Regions from separate parts of the Homo sapiens genome. Here regions 1 and 2 are each linked to region 3. Evidence: promoter capture Hi-C in 16 types of primary human blood cells and fetal thymus (Javierre and others, 2016). All regions are on one chromosome and are shown on one strand. Each heading gives the region's core, a stretch centred on a gene start or on the middle of the fragment in contact. The rest is flanking DNA. Distances are from core to core; before and after follow the strand shown.

The links. The method cuts DNA at HindIII sites, captures the fragments that hold promoters and counts their contacts. A CHiCAGO score of 5 or more calls a contact.
Region 1: a fragment that was not itself captured here is called in contact with the fragment with the promoter of ZFP64 in region 3 in 1 of 17 cell types (total CD4 T cells); the score reaches 6.4 in total CD4 T cells.
Region 2: the fragment with the promoter of BCAS1 here is called in contact with the fragment with the promoter of ZFP64 in region 3 in 1 of 17 cell types (total CD8 T cells); the score reaches 5.5 in total CD8 T cells.

Annotation. Positions count from the first base shown.
Region 1 is chr20:53,566,742-53,569,529 of GRCh38, forward strand. It overlaps ZNF217 (zinc finger protein 217), which reads right to left. Exons shown (of 6, transcript NM_006526.3): 6 at 330-2,523. All of the region lies in intron 3 of ZNF217-AS1 (ZNF217 antisense RNA 1), which reads left to right. Among named protein-coding and RNA genes, the nearest start is that of ZNF217-AS1, 15 kb to the left of the region's middle. The HindIII fragment of the contact is 4,272 bases long and covers 1-2,788 here.
Region 2 is chr20:54,069,330-54,072,142 of GRCh38, forward strand. It overlaps BCAS1 (brain enriched myelin associated protein 1), which reads right to left and starts at 1,265. Exons shown (of 13, transcript NM_001366298.2): 1 at 1,104-1,265. RefSeq lists an enhancer at 1-858. The HindIII fragment of the contact is 13,812 bases long and covers 1-2,813 here.
Region 3 is chr20:52,190,451-52,193,150 of GRCh38, forward strand. It overlaps ZFP64 (ZFP64 zinc finger protein), which reads right to left and starts at 1,329. Exons shown (of 6, transcript NM_018197.3): 1 at 1,141-1,329. The coding sequence starts at 1,186. RefSeq lists enhancers at 184-1,040, 2,081-2,210 and silencers at 801-1,040, 1,401-1,670. The HindIII fragment of the contact is 28,170 bases long and covers 1-2,700 here.

The DNA of each region.
Region 1 (2,788 bases), core at 104-2,603, 1.4 Mb after region 3:
TTGGCCAGGCTGGTCTCAAACTCTTGGTTTCAAGTGATCCACCCGCCTTGGCCTTCCAAAGGGCTGGGATTACAGGCGTGAGCCACGTGCTGGCCTTAAAATTGTGTTTATAAGCCAGGCATGATGGCTCGATACTCGGGAGGCCGAGAGCTGGAGGATCAGTTGAGCCCAGGGGTTCAAGGCTGCAGTGAGCTGTGATTGCACCACTGCACTCCAGCCTGAGTGACAGAGCAGGAGCACATCTCAAAAAAAAAAAAAAGAAAGAAAACTAAAAAGTTAAATAAAACAAAATCAGAAACCAGAAACACAATAAACACTAAAACTCAAGATTGCAAAACACCAAATCTATATTTACACTTCCACATATAATAACATAACTTTAAGCTGAAATATATCATAAATAAAACAAGTAATGTCTACTGTTCGACAACTTAAGTATCAACAATTAAAATAAATCAAACTGGAATGAAATAAATACATAAACAAAAATCCAACGAATTGTACCTCTATTATATGTACTGTTGTCTCAAAGAAAAAAAAATATAAAACCAGTAGTATACCAATAGTTAATACTGATGGACACAAAAACATATTTTGAAGTACAAAGGGCTGTAGGAAAATAATTGGTATTTTTATACATTCAGAAATGTGGTTAAAAAGAGAAATCTGAAAGCCCAAAAAATTCCAGCATAATACAAATCGACTTGTTTTCAAATAGATTTGGTGATTCTTTTTTTTAAATACAGGTTTAAATTCCAGCCCTCTATTATCACATACCCCCTTTAAGATTTATGGTTCTAGTCACAGCAAGCTCTCTGTAACACTCATTGGATTAGGCAAAGATTGAGTCAATCATCTTGCAAATGTGTTAATCTTCAAAAATAGGCTATAAAAGTGCAAAACTATGAAAACAAAATCTAGATTATGTACATATGGCTCAGCTTGTGAACAGGAAAAAAGGTCAATAGTGTACACTTTCCTGATACAAAGCACTTCATTGCAATGCCAACAGACTGATCTCAAATGAGTTCTCCCTTGTAACACAGGAGCTAAGACTTCTATCAAGGAGGACATCTTACGTTGCATAATTTAAAAAAAAAAAATTTTTTCTAGGATTACCCTTGCTCTATGGAGAACAGCGAGGCCAGAAAAATGAACAGTGCAAATTTATTTTTGAAACAGTTTCTTAATAAAATATTTTGTGGTCACTAAGCCCATGTACTAATAAACTCAGCCATGGACAGCATATTAAAGAACAAAAGTTTAAAATATCTAGGAAGCCAGCTGGTGGCCATCTTCTCTAAAACCCAAATTGCATGTGCACTGAGAAAAATGTTACTGCTTCAAAACAACCAAAAATGGGAAAATAACTGAGGTCTAGAAACAGATTTTCTCTTTCTAGACTCCCAGCGGGCTCGGCCAGCAGTTCCTTATTCAAAATCAATGTGTCTATAATCAACTCTAGTATGTCCACAGTTCACCCAAATGCCAGATACATTAAGACTACCAAATACAAACCTAAAATGTTCCCCCCAAAATTTCCCTTAAAACTGTTCCCCAATACCTGCAATTCACAGATATAATTTAGCATTTTTGTTTTTATATACTAATTTAGGCAAAACCCCCCCGCCACTGAATCGTCCAACAAAAATGATTAATTTGACAGAAACAAATTTAAATAACTGCACATACAGTTTATGTTTATACAACGTGTGGCTGCTCTACAGAGAAAATGCTTGTCTGTAGACACACTCTCTTAAAAATCCTACAAGCCATCCCAACGCCCTCAGTCAAGGATCCTGGAGGTTCCAGGACAATCTGGAGAGGCGAGGAAGAAGGTGCCTTCCCCATCTGAGATGCTCAAAGTTGCGATAAAATGCTGCCAGCTTCCGAATGGCTGACCTCGATATCTGCAGCACATATCATAGAGGGTCAATACTTCCATTAACAATTTTAAGACAACAATAGATTTGGGTGGATTCAACATAATACAAAATCATTGACAGTTTAAAAAAAAAAAAACATACATTTTAAATGAAAGAGCACAATAGCAGAAACTGCTCCAAGTGATGAGCTGCATTAGAGAAAAGGAATACACACAGTATTTGAACAAGCAGGTTTACAACTTAGATATTTACAGATTTTTACCTGAGGTGCAAGCATTATATACTTTTCCCCCATCCCGCCCCACCCAACCCAAATGATTTCTTTTCAGCAGCGCTCAAGTATGCAAAAATTCCACTTCTTATTTGGTCAATTCTAAGAAAAATATTATTCAGGGACAAAATAGAGATTTCCAGTCCCCATGTATGTAAGTTCCAACTGTTCCAACTAGTTTGTATTGCTATTTGGTACAAAAGTTAACAGAACAACTTTACACAACTGTAGTGTTCCTTGCAGATTCCTCATATGTTTTATGTACAGTACAATCACAGCTTATTTCAGTAGCTTTCACCATTCGCTTCTCAAAGGATGAAGTAAAATTTAATTTCATGGGGAGTAAGCACTGACATCCACCAAGACCTAAGGAAAACAACATTTTTTAAATGATTAAGATCAAAACTGAATACAGTTTAGAAAATTCTTTCTTTAAAAAAGCGTAATACATAGAACCAAACTGACCTAGAAATGCAATGGGTTCTATTTGTTGTTGTTGTTTTTGAGACAGTCTCACTCTGTCGCCCAGGCTGGAGTGCAGCGGCACGATCTTGGCTCACTGCAACCTCTACCTCCCAGGTTCAAGCGATTCTCCTGCCTCAGCCTTCCAAGTAGCTGGGACTACAGGCAT
Region 2 (2,813 bases), core at 15-2,514, 1.9 Mb after region 3:
GCTGTTCCTGATCTTATCTTTCTGTAACATGTTCATAGTTTGTTCATCACGGGTGTCTTGCCATTAATTCTGACTTTTAAAAATGTTGTGTTAACATACCGTTTATCTCCATGACTGAGTTTTTTGGCATCCCTTACATTTCGTGCCCAAGGTGAGAGTCTCACTGGCTGCACCCTCATCCCAGGCCCGACTGGACTCCAGTTCCACAGCATCCTTTCCATGAGACCTGGAACCAGATGCAGCTCCCTCTTCACCCAGCTTCATGTTCCTAGTTGTAAAATGGAGACGATGGTAACAGCGAAAACAAGAACCACAGCTAAGAGTTACTAAGTGCACAGGTATTTACGGGCAGTAGAGTCCTCTCAGCCCTTTGATCTCAGTACTGTTATTAGGTTCACTTTACAGATGAGGAAACTGAGGCCCAGAGGGCTGAGGGAACCTGCTCCAGGGCACCCAGCCAGCCCAGGGTGGAGCTGGGGCTGGCATCTGGCGGTGTGGCTGCAGCGCACCCGCATTCTAATCGCAATGACTCTTCCAGGCAGGAAACTGGTTCAGAGGGAGATGTAAACAGCAGGGGTCCTGAAGCCAGGATTTGAATCAGCAGCTGCCTCATAGGGTGGTCTTGAGCGTTAAATAAGATTCACAAAAGGCACTCCACAAGTCCTTTTTCTTGTCCTCCCACTTCTTTAGGCAATGCCTGAGGTGAAGGCTCAGATTCCACTCGGCTATGGGGCATTCTTGCCCTGACGGATCCCCAAATCACACAGCCTATCCCTCCATCCAGTGACTTCTCCCCATGTCCTGTGCTTGAAATGACCCTCAATAGTTCCACCAAATAGGAGTTATTTATGTGGCTATGCGCCTAACACTGACCACATTGTCATTTGCTCCTTGTAAAACTAAAAACTTTGAGATGAGTGCTATCTTTGGGTCCATTTCACAGATAGTGGAACTGAGGCTTACACATATCCAAGGCCACACAGTGAACAGAAGGCAGAGCTGGGATCAAACTTGACCCTGTCTGACCCCTGGCCTCTATATGACACCGTCTACCACAAACAGCAAACCCTCCAGCCATGCCTAAAGGATCTGAAAGCAGTTACCTGCTGAGCCCCTGTGGGAGTATCTTCAGTCCCCTCGTGTCACCCGGAGCTGCTCCTGCACAGGGTCCTGGGTCTCCAGTGCGTGCTGCCCAGTGCCTGGCTGTCGGTGGAGCCTGGCTCCCTGCACTTTGCTTCCTTGTGCAGAGCCTGCTGGCTGAATACACAGAGCAGGGCAAACACAAGCCTGGGTGGAGTCCTCCCTTCTCCCCGGACCATCCTGCAGAAACAGGTTCTCTTCCTGATGTGGGGCTGCCCTCCCAACTCCAATAAAAACTGAGCACCTGACTCCTCTCGCATTAATGCCTCCCTGGCACCCCAAGTATTCTACCCAGTGCCCCTCACCTACTGAGGCTGCCGGGTTGACCTGGGGAAGCAGTTTCCTTCCCCAGTAACCGTAGGTCATGGTCAGAGCAGGGAAAACACGTTCTGTGAGATTTTGTAGTTCTGTCTGCTGACTTCAGAACACCACCTCCACCACCACCTAACCACCTAATTGGAAGGAAATAGCTTCTCATCCACTCAACTACCCCTAGTCATGTAAACCTTATTCCCAAAGGGGTTTGGACACCAGAAATCAGGTAACCTGAGGGTGGTTTATTGCTCTGGAGACATACCATGATGTTGGAAAGGGCATTCTTTTTCTTTGCAGGCCAGAAATTCGACAGGCTATGCAATTTATTTAATTCAAGCAAGGATGTTGTTTAAAGTGTCTTACAAGGACATATACAATAGATTATGAGAGCATGAAATAACATGTAACAAAAGAAGATTGAAGAACAAAATTTGGAACATCAAATGAGAACAGGATCAAAAATAAATGCTCTTGTTGATTTACAGACTTGCTATGAAGGGTTTGCAGATATGGCTTTGAGCTTCCTAACAGCCAATGCAAGAAAGGAAACTTGATAAGTTACACTACTTAGTGCTCTGGAGAAGACATTCAAGAGAATTGCGACCAATAATTATTGTGGTTTTATTCAACAGTATACTCAGCTTAACCCCTATCATGAATACTTGTCAAGCACCAGGCTATATATATAAGCCAGAGTTTAAAGAGGTGAGTAAAAGATGCTGGGTCTCTACCCTTCTTGCACTCAGTGTCATTGGACATAGAATCCTGTAAATATAAACATAGAATTACAGGGTGTGATTCTCATTATAAAAGAAAAGCCAAGGCAGCTAAGGGAGAGAAATAGAGAGAGCTGGGGAAGGCCTCTTTCAGAAATCAACATTTAAGAAAAAAAATACTATTTAAATAAATGCTGAATACACAACCAGGCACACCGTAATTAGGGTTGTAAAGTCGATTCCAGCTCAGCACTGTACATGTCAATCTGGAATGTAGTAAACCCAATTATTAAGCAGCTGCCATGCACACGCTCTGTGCTGACCCAAGCCTGGAGGCTCAGGAGCTTGAGCTCTGGCCCTGGGTTGAGACAGACAAGGGCTCGGATCTTGATTCTTACTGATCGGCTGTGGAATTATGAGCAAGCTACTGTACTTCCCTAAGTCTCTGTCAGCCCCCTCAGCTGTGTGCTCCTTTGTGTTTATTTTGCATCTATTCTTGTATCCCCAACTCCTGGCACCCTGCAAAACGAGGATGGGGATCCCTCTATGATAGAGTAGGTACTCTGCAACTCCTGGCTGATTGGACTTGTTCATTCTTTTTTTTTTTTTTTTTAAGACGGAGTCTTGCTTTGTCATCCAGAC
Region 3 (2,700 bases), core at 79-2,578:
TCCATGGTTTTTGTTTGTTTTTAATTTCTCCAAGAAAAAACACGGGCTTGTTATGAGAATTAAATGGGATGGTGCTCGTACCAGCACAGTCCCCCCTCCCCGCCAGTCCCCCAGCATGTTACCTGCTGGGTTCTTACTGAGGTACACTATTTAAACATGGACATATCTGAGCCCCACCTAGGAGATACTGAGTCATAACAGGGTGGGGTGGGGAGGATGGTGTTTAGGAAAATCTGTGCTTTTCACAGTAATGCAAGGAATACACCGCCAAGTTTGGGACCCAGTGTCTCCCAAACTGTTAACAGTAGCAGCTAACAAGCTGGGAGCTTACTATGTGCCAGATTTTCTGCAAACCCCTGGTAGATGGGTTCTCAAACTTCATGTGCTTCAGAGTTGCCCAGGCAGCTACGAAGGACAGCGGATCCCCAGCCCCACCCCCGAGATTGAATGGGTGGGGCCCAGAAAGCTGTTTTAAAATACACGCTCTCGCTCCCAGGTGGCTGGTTGCACTCAGTCTCTGGACCACACTTTGGGAAACAATGCACCGGGAGAAACCAGGGACTTGAAAAACGCTGATGTCCTCCTCGGTTAAATAAAAACTGAACCCCAAACCCAAATAAAGCGACCACGGCCCCGTTTTCCATTCAGATCTCCACCCTTAATGAGGAAAAGGCTTTGCAATGAGCCGGCAGGACCTCGTGAGACCTGGTGATTCCCCCAATCTCCAGGCTCTAATTTTGAGCCACTGAGGCAGAAGTTTTCCCATCAGTGTTGCCCCGTTTACCCTAGATTCCTCCCTTTCTCCTGCCCGCCCCAAACTCCGCCTGATGGGGCGGGAATGCCCTTAGGGGGTGGCGATTGTCTGAACGGCGTGCCCTCCCCCACTGTTCCCTTCCAAGGGGTCTCGCAAGGCTGGAGAGCGCCCCCGGTCTTGCGCCAGGTCGGGTGCGCCCCCACCCCAAGCCCACTCCGGCGCCCCCTGCACAGCGCGCCCGCCGCGGTCCCCGAGACGCGGCTCCGAGCCGTCACCCCGATTTCGGGGCCCCGGGCCTGCTGGCTGCGTCGCAGACGTGCTTGGGCCCGGGCCCCGGAGCGCGCACTGGGCCCCGGAGCGCGCACTGCTCCCGGAAAAGCACTTACTTTGCACCGAGCCCGCGAAGCTCTCGCCCTCGCTGCTCGCGTTCATGGCCGCAGACTGGGAGGTCCCCGGCCGGCCGGGATGCCAAAGTGGGGGACGCTGATCTACATGGTGCAAGGACTTTTCCTTTTATTTTTCCACACCCCCCACCCTGCCTTCTCCCAACTCTGCGAGGCGGGGAGGACGGATGTAAAGCAAGCTGCACTTCCGCTGCCTAGAGGGCGCTGGCCGGGCCCGGCGCCCCAACCTGGCTTTGCAGCAGCGGCTCCCCGGGGAAGCGGCGGGCGAATCCCGAGGCCCAGGCCCGCGGAGCCCCCCAACGCCCCCGGGGAGCTGGATGGCCACGCGCGTCCCGGCGTGCTGGGCGACCGCGGGTGGCGAGGGATGCGCCCCTGCCCGCACTCTGCGTTCTCCGCGGACGCGATTGGCCTCCCCGGCTCGGGGCGCCTTTTGCACCTGCAACCCCAGGCGTTGGGCCCCCAGCGCGGCCGTGCAGCAGCGCTGCTCCCGGGACGCCTGGGTGGTTTGCGGGGAGACCCACGTGCGGCTGCCGTTGCGGGGTGGGTGCGCGGGGCGCGGCGAGCTCCGGAGAAACCCAGGTTGGGCGTGAGCGCTGGGCAAATCAGCAAAGCGCTGGGCGGGTCCCTTGCCCCGCTAGGGAGACTGAGAGGACCGCGAAGAGGTGGGGTCGTAGCGCGGAGGGACCCCTGCTCCAGGAGCTGCCAACTTTATCGTGCATCGCAGTCGCCTGAAAGGCTTGTTAGAACACACGCTGTTGGGCCCACCCTAGCGTTTCTGCTTCAGTAGGTCTGGGGCGAGGCGTGAGAACGAGCATTTCTAAGTTCCCAGGTGATGCCCCTAGTGTTGGTCGGCGTCCACACTCTGAGGACAGTGACCTCTCTGCTCTGTCCCTCATGTCTTACTACTACTGTCTCCCCCGGGCTCCTGCGTCAGCCCTATTGTCTCTCTGCCGACCCTCCCAAGCCTCAGACCTCTCCCAGCCTCGAGGGATTTGCCCATAGAGTCTGTCCTGCTTCTGAAGGTCAGCATTCAAATTCACACTCAGGGAGGCCATGCTTGGCCTAATCTAATCATTCTAATATTGCAGCCCCCTCCTCCTCCCCCAACCACTCCCTGTCTCCTTCCTGTTTTTTTCTTTTTCTTTTTCTTTTCTTTTCTTTTCTTTTCTTTTCTTTTCTTTTCTTTTCTTTTCTTTTCTTTTCTTTTCTTTCTTTCTCTCTCTCTGCCTCTCTCTCTTTCTCCCTTTCTTTTTTTAGAGAGGGGGTCTTTCTCTGTCTCTCAGGCTGGAAGAGTGGTCGGATCCTAGCTCATTGCAGCCTCCAACTCCTGGGCTCAAGCAATCCCCCCTACAGGCGTGGGCCACCACCCTGGCTCACTTTTTAATTTTTATTTTTGTAGAGATGTTGCCCAGGCTGGTCTCGAATTCCTGGCCTCAAGCGATCCTCCATCAGCCTCCCAAAGTGCTGGGGTTACAGGTGTAAGCCACCATGCCTGGCCTGCTTTGTCCTTAAAAGGTGTTAGATGGAACATATTATGTATCT